Linked DNA regions of Homo sapiens: regions 2, 3 and 4 are each linked to region 1. Evidence: promoter capture Hi-C in 16 types of primary human blood cells and fetal thymus (Javierre and others, 2016). All regions are on one chromosome and are shown on one strand. The core of a region is centred on a gene start or on the middle of the fragment in contact, and the rest is flanking DNA. Distances in the headings are between cores, read along the strand shown.

The links. The method cuts DNA at HindIII sites, captures the fragments that hold promoters and counts their contacts. A CHiCAGO score of 5 or more calls a contact.
Region 2: a contact is called between a fragment that was not itself captured here and the fragment with the promoter of DENND5A in region 1, in 3 of 17 cell types (megakaryocytes, erythroblasts and M2 macrophages). The highest score is 7.4, in megakaryocytes.
Region 3: a fragment that was not itself captured here is called in contact with the fragment with the promoter of DENND5A in region 1 in 1 of 17 cell types (erythroblasts); the score reaches 5.5 in erythroblasts.
Region 4: a contact is called between a fragment that was not itself captured here and the fragment with the promoter of DENND5A in region 1, in 1 of 17 cell types (M1 macrophages). The highest score is 5.7, in M1 macrophages.

What each region holds. Positions count from the first base shown.
Region 1 is chr11:9,264,022-9,266,786 of GRCh38, forward strand. It overlaps DENND5A (DENN domain containing 5A), which reads right to left and starts at 1,329. Exons shown (of 23, transcript NM_015213.4): 1 at 940-1,329. The coding sequence starts at 1,048. RefSeq lists enhancers at 1-200, 361-480, 1,561-1,630 and silencers at 771-1,130, 1,181-1,280. The HindIII fragment of the contact is 8,855 bases long and covers 632-2,765 here.
Region 2 is chr11:9,527,441-9,530,187 of GRCh38, forward strand. It overlaps ZNF143 (zinc finger protein 143), which reads left to right. Exons shown (of 16, transcript NM_003442.6): 16 at 90-1,084. The coding sequence ends at 173. Among named protein-coding and RNA genes, the nearest start is that of WEE1, 45 kb to the right of the region's middle. RefSeq lists an enhancer at 2,216-2,747. The HindIII fragment of the contact is 622 bases long and covers 1,027-1,648 here.
Region 3 is chr11:9,748,807-9,751,506 of GRCh38, forward strand. It overlaps SWAP70 (switching B cell complex subunit SWAP70), which reads left to right. Exons shown (of 12, transcript NM_015055.4): 11 at 281-377; 12 at 1,058-2,700. The coding sequence ends at 1,164. Among named protein-coding and RNA genes, the nearest start is that of SBF2-AS1, 8.1 kb to the right of the region's middle. The HindIII fragment of the contact is 2,782 bases long and covers 1-2,656 here.
Region 4 is chr11:8,993,679-8,996,378 of GRCh38, forward strand. All of the region lies in intron 1 of NRIP3 (nuclear receptor interacting protein 3), which reads right to left. Among named protein-coding and RNA genes, the nearest start is that of NRIP3, 9.0 kb to the right of the region's middle. The HindIII fragment of the contact is 1,412 bases long and covers 590-2,001 here.

The DNA.
Region 1 (2,765 bases), core at 79-2,578:
AACCTTAAAGTACAACCCGACAAACCTCCACCCACTTGAAACCCACTAACTGGAAACTCCAGACAAAAACTTATTTTCAAAACTGTTACAATTCAAAGACTCCAATGACAGTGCAGTGGAAAATTCACGGGGACTGTATAATTTTCACGGCCTTCTGCAGTGAGTGCCAAATCTGGTCAGGGCCCCATCTTTGACTCCCCTCATCACTTTCCCTTTCAAATATGACTTGAAACGCATCAGAACACACCAAGCCTCTCCAACTACAATGCTGCTACCCTTTTATTCACAAACGCCTCTGTCCTCATAAAGGACATAAATTACTTTTCAAAAAAGGCATGGCCCCGGGATACAAGCCCTTTCCAAGGCTAAGGGAGTTCCTACTCTTCTTGGTGCCGCCCAAGTTCACTTTATTACTTCATATCCCATCCAGACGCGCAGAGCTGCAATCTGACTCAGGGGGCCCAGCCCAGGGCTGGGGTATAACGGTTTTGAGGAACTAGTATCACAAGCTTCTTGGGAAGTGGCCAGATAAACTCACCAAGTTTTTGTTTTCCTTTTTTTTAAGTCTGGGTGGAACTTACTTTCACTAGGACGTGGGACGCCTTCCCTCCCTAATGGGTGCCAGAGGACAAGCTTTCCTTTATTTTAAACGAAGTCACTCAACCTACACCAAACTGAGAACACACAACCCTCCCTCTTTCTGGTCGCCGAAGACGTGGCCACTGCGCAGCGGGCCGTAGGTTTGGACCCCTCATGGCTCAGAGCCCCTCATCCGTTTCCCCCCTCCAGTCCAAAGCCCCCTTCGCCCGCGCCCGCCCTGGTCCTCCCGGCCGACACTCGCCCGGCTCCCGGGACAAAGCGGGGCTGAAGGAAGGTTTCTTCTGGGGTCCCCGACGACAGCGGGCGCGGGAAAGCGCCCCGGGCTCGGCGCGCACTCACCCGACAGCTCGTCCGGCTCCAGCCCGGTCTCCGTGTCCAGTCCGCAGATGACAAAGTAGTCGGCGAAGCGACTGGGCGCCGAGCCCCCTCCGCCGCCGCCGCCACTCATGGCGCCGGGGCCGAGACCGGCCGGGCAGTGCGGAGCGGCACCGAGCCCCCGCAACCCGGGCGCCCGCCCGTCCGCCCTCAGGCCGCCCCTCCCGCCGCCGCCGCTACCGCGGCTCGGGCCGCCGCCCCCGGCCCTGGCCCGGTCCCCTCGGCCGCCGCGGCTGCCGTGACGGGGCGGGGGGGCACCGGGCCGCCCCGCACCGCATCCTGGATGCCTTCCCCTCCGCGCCGCCGCCGCTGCAGCTAGCCGAGAGCGCCGCGGCCCGAGCGAGCCTGGAGAAGGGCGGAGAGCGCGTGGACAGCCCCCACCGTGACCCTCCTCCTACCGCGCCTGCGCAGGCGCCGTCTGGGAGGGGGCGGGCTCCTGGGGGAAAGGATGACGTGATGCTCTTCGGACCCCGCCGGCCGCAGCTTCCCGGGAGGTCGCCGCAGCGCAGCCGGTGACTGCTTGGTCGCCCGCAACTGCCACTCCCCCGGGATTGAGACTCCTTTAGGGAGGGCTGAGGAGGTGCGAGAAGAGTGGGCGCAGCCTGCAGAGCCGGGCATTTGGCCCATGCTCTGCCCCCAACCACCCACCCAGCAAGCAGAGGTCCAGAGATCTTAGCGCGGCCTTGCCATGAGGATGGGGTCTCACGACTGAGCTCGGAAGCTCACCTAATCCTAGCTGCAGCGTGTCAGCCTAGACCCCAGACAGGGCCTTCTCCCTGTCCTCTCTTTTGGCAGGGGCGGATGAGCCGGTTTTATATTTACCCTTATTTTACAGACGGGGAAACTGAGTCTCAGAAAGAAGCAAGGACTTATCCAAGGTTACGCTGAGTCTAAGAGACATAAGCCTGGTCTGGAATCCTGGGCTTGTGGTCAGCTCCCCGTTCCTCGCCGCTCCCACCTCCCAGCCTGCCCTTTTCCCACGCTCTCTCCTTTTTTCTCTGGAAGCCTCCAGAGGCGCCTGCCATTTGGGAGCTCCTCTTCCTCTTCACTCTGTGAAAACTCTCAGATCCACCCCTAAACCTGTTTTCCTGTAAGAGGATAGGGAGGAGGCGAAGGGAAACTTACCTATTGGTCCTTGTCCTAGGACCCTCCGATTTCCTTTCCCATAGAAGCTAGGCAGATGTGTCTTTGTTGGAAACTGGAGATCAGAGGCCAGAAAGGCAACACAGGTATAGTGGTCACTAGCATGGGCTCTAGAAAAAAATGCTCGGATTTCAATCCTGACGATCATTTACTTTTGACCTTGAGCAAGTTAATCTCTAAGTGCCTGGCGTCATGGTTTTTGAGACAATTACATAAGGTAAATGCAAGTACAGGTAAAACAATGAGAATACTGCCTGGAACATGGAAATCACTCAGTAAATATTACAGATTTTTTTTTTCAAGACGGAGTTCTGTCTTGTTGCCCAGGCTGGAGTGCAATGGCGTAATCTCGGCTCACTGCACCTCTGCCTCCCAGGTTCAAGTGATTCTCCTGCCTCAGCCACCCAAGTAGCTAGGATTACAGGCGCGCACCACCACACTCGGCTAATTTTTTGTATTCAGTAGAGACAGGGATTCACCGTGTTGGTCAGGCTGGTCTCGAACTCCTGACCTCAGGTGATCCGCCCTCCTCTGCCTCCTAAAGTGCTGGGATTACAGGCATGAGCCAATGAGCCCCCAGCCTGGATTATTATTATTGTTCCAGAAGGAAGTACTCTTACGGTTTGTTCTGGGAGGCTGCCACTAAG
Region 2 (2,747 bases), core at 88-2,587, 260 kb after region 1:
TTTCACTTCTGGCATATAACATTTCTTTGGCATTTTCTTGACTGTGGCTTTTGAATTGTTAGCGTTTGATGTGTGTGTTCCTGTTTCAGCTTGGAGAACAGCCATCTCTGGAAGAAGCCATCAGAATAGCGTCTAGAATCCAACAAGGAGAAACGCCAGGGTTGGATGATTAATCCTCAGAACAATGGAGCAATAAAGCAGAAGGAGTCTTTCATCTTCTGGCAGCAGAAATCCATGAAGCCCGGGCCCAGGAAAATTAGAAGTTTTCCATTCCTGATACACTGTACACATTTTTATGCGAGAGTGGAGAACATTTTATTCTTGACACTTTTGTGTATATAACCCTTGGAATAGATTCTCAGAGTGATTCATTGTGTACAAGGAAGTATGAAATTAGGGCAATACAGTAAATTTTCATGTTACTCTTTTATCAGATCACAAACTCCTAGAGTCTACATGCAAGACTAGTAAAGTCTTATGGAGTCTTATGATGGATTTTTAACTTCCCGTGGAAAAAAAAATAAAGGCTGTATCTAAAATATCAAAGGTTCTATATGTCACACAATCGTAATTCCAAAAGCCATTATGGATAATAAAGGGTGTAAAGCCTTCAGATATTTCCCCAGTTAGTAGAGTGTCTGCGGTTTTTGTTCTACTATATGCTTGTCCATTTTTATTTGTATCTCATGGTTTGCAGACTGTTTGAATAATTTATAGTTTCCCATCCCTGTTAAAAACCAGCTCTTCAAGCTGAAATGCTAATTATATTGGCATTACATTGAATTATGTACAAAATTATAAAATTTGGTTATTTAAAATTAAAAAGTTAAATCCAGTGGTTTTGTTAAAGATTTTGCTTAGTATTCAATTTTTATTACTGTTTTTTAAAAATAATGAATCATCAAAGTTTAACCACAGGCTGGTGCCCGGGATAACAGTACTGTAATTGGAAATGGCTTTACTCTGAAAATTAGGTTAGTGGGTTGGTGTAAATTATTTATTTTTGCTTATGTACTTTTGTTTTAAAGCTTATTTACCCCAAAGTTTATTATTAATTTTGAATACAGCAATTTTTAAAATGTTACTTTTATATTTATTTATTTATCATATTGGTGGGGGGTTGGGGGGAAATGGTGCAGAAAATATCGCAAATGTAATGGAATGTAACCTAATACACATATTGAAAGGATGTTGTTTATCAAGTACAGAGTAAGTGCTTTTCCATATATTTTTATATATTCACAACAATTTTGTGAGACATATGGGATTTACTACCTCCGTTTTTTACATGAGGAAACCAAGAGTCCAGGAGGGAGGCTGACTGTCGTACCAGCCCTCACAGCTATGGAGAGGCAGGACCAAGACGAGAACCCAGACTTTCTGGCTCCAAGTCTAGTGTGTTTTCACTGCACCACAGTTACCTCCTCAAATGCTCATTTGTGGCAGAGATTATCAAGATGAACTTTGGTGATTTCTGATTGCCTAATGAATTGAGCAGTATAAAAACCATTTTCTAATGCTGGAAAATCAGCGTTCACCAAGGTCAAAAAAAAAAAAAAAAAGATGGTGTGTTCCGCAGCAGCCCCTCCTGCACTGTAGTTCAGCGAGCTTTATTTGCAGAGAGCTGAAATGTGGCTTTTTCATTTCAAGCTTTACAGTAGAAAGGGGAAAACGTTGTGCTGTTTGATTTTACATAAATGTTATCTTTGATCAGGTTCTATGATCTTGCTAAAAAGGATGGTGACTTACTTGAAATCGGAAGCCCTTCAGGGTTGGGCAGAACTTTTCCTGCAGAACCCTTTACAGATGCATAACATTAGCAAAAGCCCTAGTCAACCACCGATCGAGTCTTCATTCTTGACAGAGACACAGACCCACACAGAACTCCCCCCGGAAGCCCACTGAGGCTCAGAAAGGGGCTGTTGGGCGGGGTAGAAGACCAGAATCTGCAAAATCGCAGGCAGGGTGGCGCCCAGCCTCCCAGTGCTGGTCCTGGCTGCTGGCCAGGAGCTCCTCCCCACTGGGCCCAGCCAGGCTGCTGTACTTCCCAGGACCAAAAACCAAGCTGTCAGCCTCCCATGGCCCCTTAGATCTGACTTTGCTCAAATTCCAGGGTGTTTCTCTTTACTCCCAGCACCTTTGCCAGTTGGATTGGGCAGGGCTTAACCTGGACTGTTTTGGTTAGCCTGATTATCCCTCAGCTCAAAAGAAAATGACCTCTGGCACCCAGAGAAAAGGGCCTAGGGTCGCTGCTAGTTTAACCTGACCTGCCTTCTTGGGAATGGGGCCTCAGGAGCCTGGCAAGGTGGCCTGTTTCCTCCAGGGGAAGGGTGCAGTTGGTGTGCTGACAATTGCTAGGAAAGCTGCTATAGGGTCTCTTCACAGTGCAGGACATGGAAACGTCCAAGGTTGAAAAATCCCAAAAAGACACTTGAAATAAGAGTAAACGCTAGCAAACAGAACCAGGTGGGGCATAACCCTCTGGAATTTGATCCAGACAGTGCTCAAGGAAAACCTCTCCGTCCAAAAAAACCACCCTGCTTTGCCCCAGACAAAGCTTGAGGCCACTACAAAGAAAATGTGCCCTAGTCTGAACTCAAAAGAACTTAGAGTTAAGGGAGGGACGAGGCTTTCTTAATTCTCTAGAGGTGACAGCTGCCCAGAGAGCCAGATCTCTCCTTCCCCTCCTACCCACCCCCAGGCCTTCAGGGCAAACTAACTTTGTACAGTGTCTCTTGCTTGCTGCT
Region 3 (2,700 bases), core at 16-2,515, 480 kb after region 1:
CGTATGCAGATGGTGGAAGAATAGGCTTTGGAATCAGACAGCCTGGGTTCCAATTCTGGCTCTACCATTTCCTGCTGTGTGACTCTCGGCAGGTTACTGACCTTCTCTGAACCCGTTTTCACTCTGTACAATGGGGTAATAGTAGTTCCCACTTCTTAGAATGGGCTATGAGAGGATTTAATGAGATAATTCACAAATACATAGTAAGGGCCCAATAGTTGTGATTTGGTTCTTAAACTACCCGTGTGTCTGCATAGTCCAAAATCCACTTTTGTTTCAGGAAGTTAAAAAGAAGCTGGAGATGGCAACTAATAAGACCAAGAGCTGGAAGGACAAAGTGGCCCATCATGAAGGATTAATTCGACTGATAGAACCAGGTAACAGACTCTATGAAGTAATCATATATTTATTTTTATTTTTCATTTTTATTTTATTTAATTAATTTATTTATTTTGAGATGGAGTCTCGCTCTGTCGCCCAGGCTGGATGGAGTGCAGTGGTGCGATCTTGGCTCACTGCAAGCTCCGCCTCCTGGGTTCATGCCATTCTCCTGCCTTAACCTCCCAAGTAGCTGGGACTACAGGTGCCCGCCACCACGACCGGCTAATTTTTTGTATTTTTAGTAGAGACGGGGTTTCACCGTGTTAACCAGGATGGTCTTGATCTCCTGACCTCGTGATCCGCCCGCCTCAGCCTCCCAAAGTCCTGGAATTACAGGCGTGAGCCACCACGCCCTGCCCATATATTTATTTTTAAATTTATTTTTCTGTTTCACTTGTGTATTTGAATTGTACTAAAGAAACTTTTTTAGCCCAAATGTAAAAAAACCAAGCTGTTCAGGATAAATTTCTCTTGAAAATCTTATCCCCTAATAGGTAAGAGGGCCCAGTTAATCCCCTTGGTATACATCTTCTAATTGTTTTAGCTGGTATGACATTTATGCATGTTCCTCAAAGAAGAAATAAAGTAGGGAAGTTACTATTTTGTCTGTAGAAAAATGATGGGGTATCCTGAAGAATATAATACTTCCTGTATTTAAAGCATGTTTGCCTCTTAGGTTCAAAGAACCCTCACCTGATCACTAACTGGGGACCTGCAGCTTTCACTGAGGCAGAACTTGAAGAGAGAGAGAAGAACTGGAAAGAGAAAAAGACCACGGAGTGACTGAGCTTGCTGGCAGTCACGTCAGTTATGTAGATACTGCATGGCAGGAGAGCTTTACGCTAAAGACAAAAGAAACAGCTTTGGGGGCCGGGCGTGGTGGCTCACGCCTGTAATCCCAGCACTTTGGGAGGCCGAGGCGGGTGGATCACCTGAGGTCAGGAGTTCAAGAGCAGCCTGGCCAACCTGGTGAAACCCTGTCTCTACTAAAAATACAAAAAAAATTAGCTGAGCGTGGTGGCGGGCGCCTGTAATCCCAGCTACTTGGGAGGCTGAGGCAGGAGAATCACTTGAACGTGGGAGGCGGAGGTTGCAGCGAGCTGAGATCATGCCGTTGTACTCCAGCTTGGGCAACAGAGTGAGACTCCATCTCAAAACAAAACAAAACAAAACAAAACAAAAAAACCCGGCTTTGCTGCTTTTAACTCTTCTTCCTTCTGTGCCTCTCTAAGTGGGTCAGTATCCTAAGGAAGCCTTCTTATTTATCTTCCTGCAAACAAGGGTTACCTGAAAAGAAAAAAAAAGTCAACATTGTCAAGCTGTTTGTTTACTCTTTCTTTGAAAACATCACCTTCTGAAATTTGTCTTTTAGCTCTCTCAGATTCTTCCCCAAATGAGGCAGGGTGCAGACAGCACAGTCAGCTCTGCAGAGTTTGGAGGGGCTCACTGCCACTGGGTACTCAGAACCTCTGTGGACTGGATGTCAGCTCTTTCCTTTGGCAGCGTGTTTCCTTTTCCGAGTATGTGCTGTTAAACTAGATTGGCCGGTTCGCTTTCCATTTCCTGACACTTGACATGGAATGCCTTTGACCATTGGTGCTCTGACAGAGAAGTCATGGAGTCATTGCCATTTCCTGGTTGCCCTTTTGGAATGTGATCCTGTTAGTAGAGGTTTTCTAGCTTCTACTAAGATATTTCTTTCCCTAACCATCATACACTTGGCATGTTTCATTCCCATCTCCTTTCCCCTCACCTTAAAGGAGACTACCCCTTTGCCCCATATTGTCAACCTAATTTTCTCTCGTACTCTCTCTAGTGAATGATGTGCTACCAAGTATATGCCAGGCTGTGAGAGGATTATACTGAGTAGTAGAAAGAAGCTAATTTGAAATAAAAATTATTTGTATAATTAAGAAAGCAGATTAGATGCACATGGTCAACAGGAAGTTGACTGTATGTCTGCTAGTTAGATTCAAAACATCATAAAGATGATAGCATGTCAATATATTAGCCTAGCCATTATGTTAGCCTTTGTTAGGTGGGCAGCTTTTCTGCTTTTTCCCTTCCTCTGTGGTGACAACGGAGGAAATATCCAACAGAAATACGTCTAACAGGGAAATTGGGATCATAGTTTATATGCATCTGATTTGAAAGGAGTATTGAGGAAGGTTTTCATATATGATCTATCTTTGGATTAAAAAGAACATTTATGAAATCAAGCCTTCTAACACTAGTTATAATTGAGAAGCAACAGTAACTCCGTGGACAGCAATCAAGCTTAAAATTGTAAATAAATATGGGGATAATTCAGTTGTTGCA
Region 4 (2,700 bases), core at 46-2,545, 270 kb before region 1:
CACGCCTGTAGCCCCAGCTACCTGGGAGGCTGAGGTAGGAGACTAATTTGAGCCTAGAAGGTGGAGGTGGTAGTGAGCCAAGATCACACCACTGCACTCCAGCCTGGGCAACAAAGCGAGACCCTGCCTCAAAAAAAAAAAAAAAAAAAAAGTAAGACTAGATAGATAGTGATGAAAACAGTTAATTAAGAAATAGCAGTATCACCATTTACTTGGAGATATGGAGATCCCTAACACAAGCAACAGCTTTAAATTTTTAAAAGTTTTAAATTATTTACATTTTTAAAAATTTTAAATAAAAATATACCCCATGTAGCAGAAAAGAGTTCAGCCACAAGAAAAGCCAACTTACCGTAGTTTAAATGGAGATTTATTTTTCTCACATAACAAGAAGTCTAGACATAGAAGCTGCTGATACTAACTCAGCAGCTTAACAACTTCAGGGCTATTGACTCTGTTAATTCTCTTGGACATTCCTTCATGGTCACAGATGAATACCCCAGCTCCAGGCATTATATCCACATTCAAGAAATGAGGAAGGAGGAGGGACTACACTAACACCATCAATTGCTTTTATCAGAAAAGGAAAAGCTTTCCCAGAAGTTCCTTCAGCAGTTTTTTGCCCATATCTTCTTGGTCAGAACTCATATGGCCACTCCTAGCTCTAACAGACATTGGGAGAGAATTTAGCTTTTATAATCTCTATAGAGGAGTTCAGCATAAAGAAAAGGGCTAAGGATGGGTGATAATTTAGCCAACTAACAGTGTCTGCCAGATGCAAAAACTAAAGCATGTGCACACACACAATGTAACTTAGGCAGGTATAATGCCAGGTTATCTTATAACCAGCTTAGCATCTATTTTCTTATGTCTGCCCTACTTTCTGCATTTTAAAACAGCACATCCTTGACAGACAAGTTTGTGGTATAAGCATACCTTAACTATTTACTAATGGGCATTTAGATTATTTTCATATGTTTGCCATTAGAAACAATGCTGCAATAAACTCAACATTTCATTTATCCTGAAACGCTCCTCCACTGGCCTCTAAAACCACCTGTTTATTCTGTTCCTGTCTCTCTCACTGGTTCCTTTGCCTATGTTCATTTCTTAAATGTTAGTGTTCCTCATCGCTCTATCTTTGGTCCTTTGTCACTCTACATATACTCCCAGGGCAATTTTATCTGTTTTCATTGCATAAATTACTACCTTTATGATGATGACTCTATCTCATGTCCAGATGTCACCTCAATTCTAGACCCATAGATCCAACTGCCTTTTTCAACTTCTCTACTTAGATATTCCACAGGCACTTCAAATGTAAATTATCCCACTGATATTTTCTATCAAACTTGCGCATTCTCCCTTATTCCCTATCTCGGTGGGTGAAATTCTGCCTCCTCTTATTTTCTTCTTCATTTACGTTACTGCTAAGCCCAATCTCCTAACATTACTTTCATGGTCCTCTTCCCCCACAGTGGTTCTCTTGCTAGTTGTAACAAAGAAAAATCCTCAATTTACCATTCAAGACCTTCCACTACCATTCATCCTCCTTCCCAATCTCATCTTTTTAATTACTACTCCATGAAGGCTTTCTGCTTTCAGCAAATTACCACTTGTCACATATTAGCTTGGGCAAATCACTAACCTCTATGAGCATTACTTTTCTCCAAACCTTACTCTCTTGATCAGTCATAAAGGAGGTTTGAACTCCAAAGACTTGTTCAGTTTTAACATATTGGGTTAATTCCTTTCCAACAACCTTGGTAAGTGGCACCACCATACATCCATTCTTGATTTTTTCATTTCCTGACCTCCCATCAAAAGTGATATTGTACTCTGAAACACACCTGGAATTGATCTGCTTCTCCCCATCTTTACTACCTCCAATCTAATCCAAACCACTATAATTTCTTATCTGTACTGTCACAGCCTCCTAACTTGCATTCTGCCTCTTCTTTTACCCTTCTCCAGTCCATTCTTTGCATGGAAACCAGAGTAAGCTTTTTAAAACATAAGTCAGGTAATACAGTACTTTACTCAAAACCCTTCAATGGCTTCCCATTGTTCTTCAGAAAAAATCCAAACTTTTTACCCTTCTCTATACAGCTCTGTACCAACTGGCCCTTGCCTCTCCTTCCATATACAAACCACTCTCCCTTTATTCATTCAGATTCAACACCATCCACACTCACTTCCTTGCTCAAAATTTCTTTCCCATTCCAATCCCTTTGCACTGGCTGTCCCCTCTGCCTGAAATGTTCTTCCCCTAACATTTCTAATAGTTAGGTCCCTCTTATCTTCCAGGTCTCTGTTCAAATGTCATTTCCTCAGAGATACCTTCCTTGACCATACAACTTAAAGTAGGTAGGTCACCTTTTTAGTTACTAACAAATCTCACTATTTCTTTCATAGTAATTATCAATATGAAATTATTTTGTGTATTTACTTGTTTATATTTCACCCCTGCCCTACCAGCATGTTAACTGCACAAGGGCAGGGACCATGACTGTCTTGATTTCAGCTATATCCTCAGCTCTTGACATAGTACTGAAAGAAATCTCTACCCCTTCTTTCTTCAAAAAGCCTTTTTTTCCTTTTTTTTTTTTTTTTTTTTTTTTGAGATGGAGTCTCACTCTGTCTCCCAGGCTGGAGTGCAGTGGCGCAATCTTGGCTTGCTGAAATCTCCACCTCCTGGGT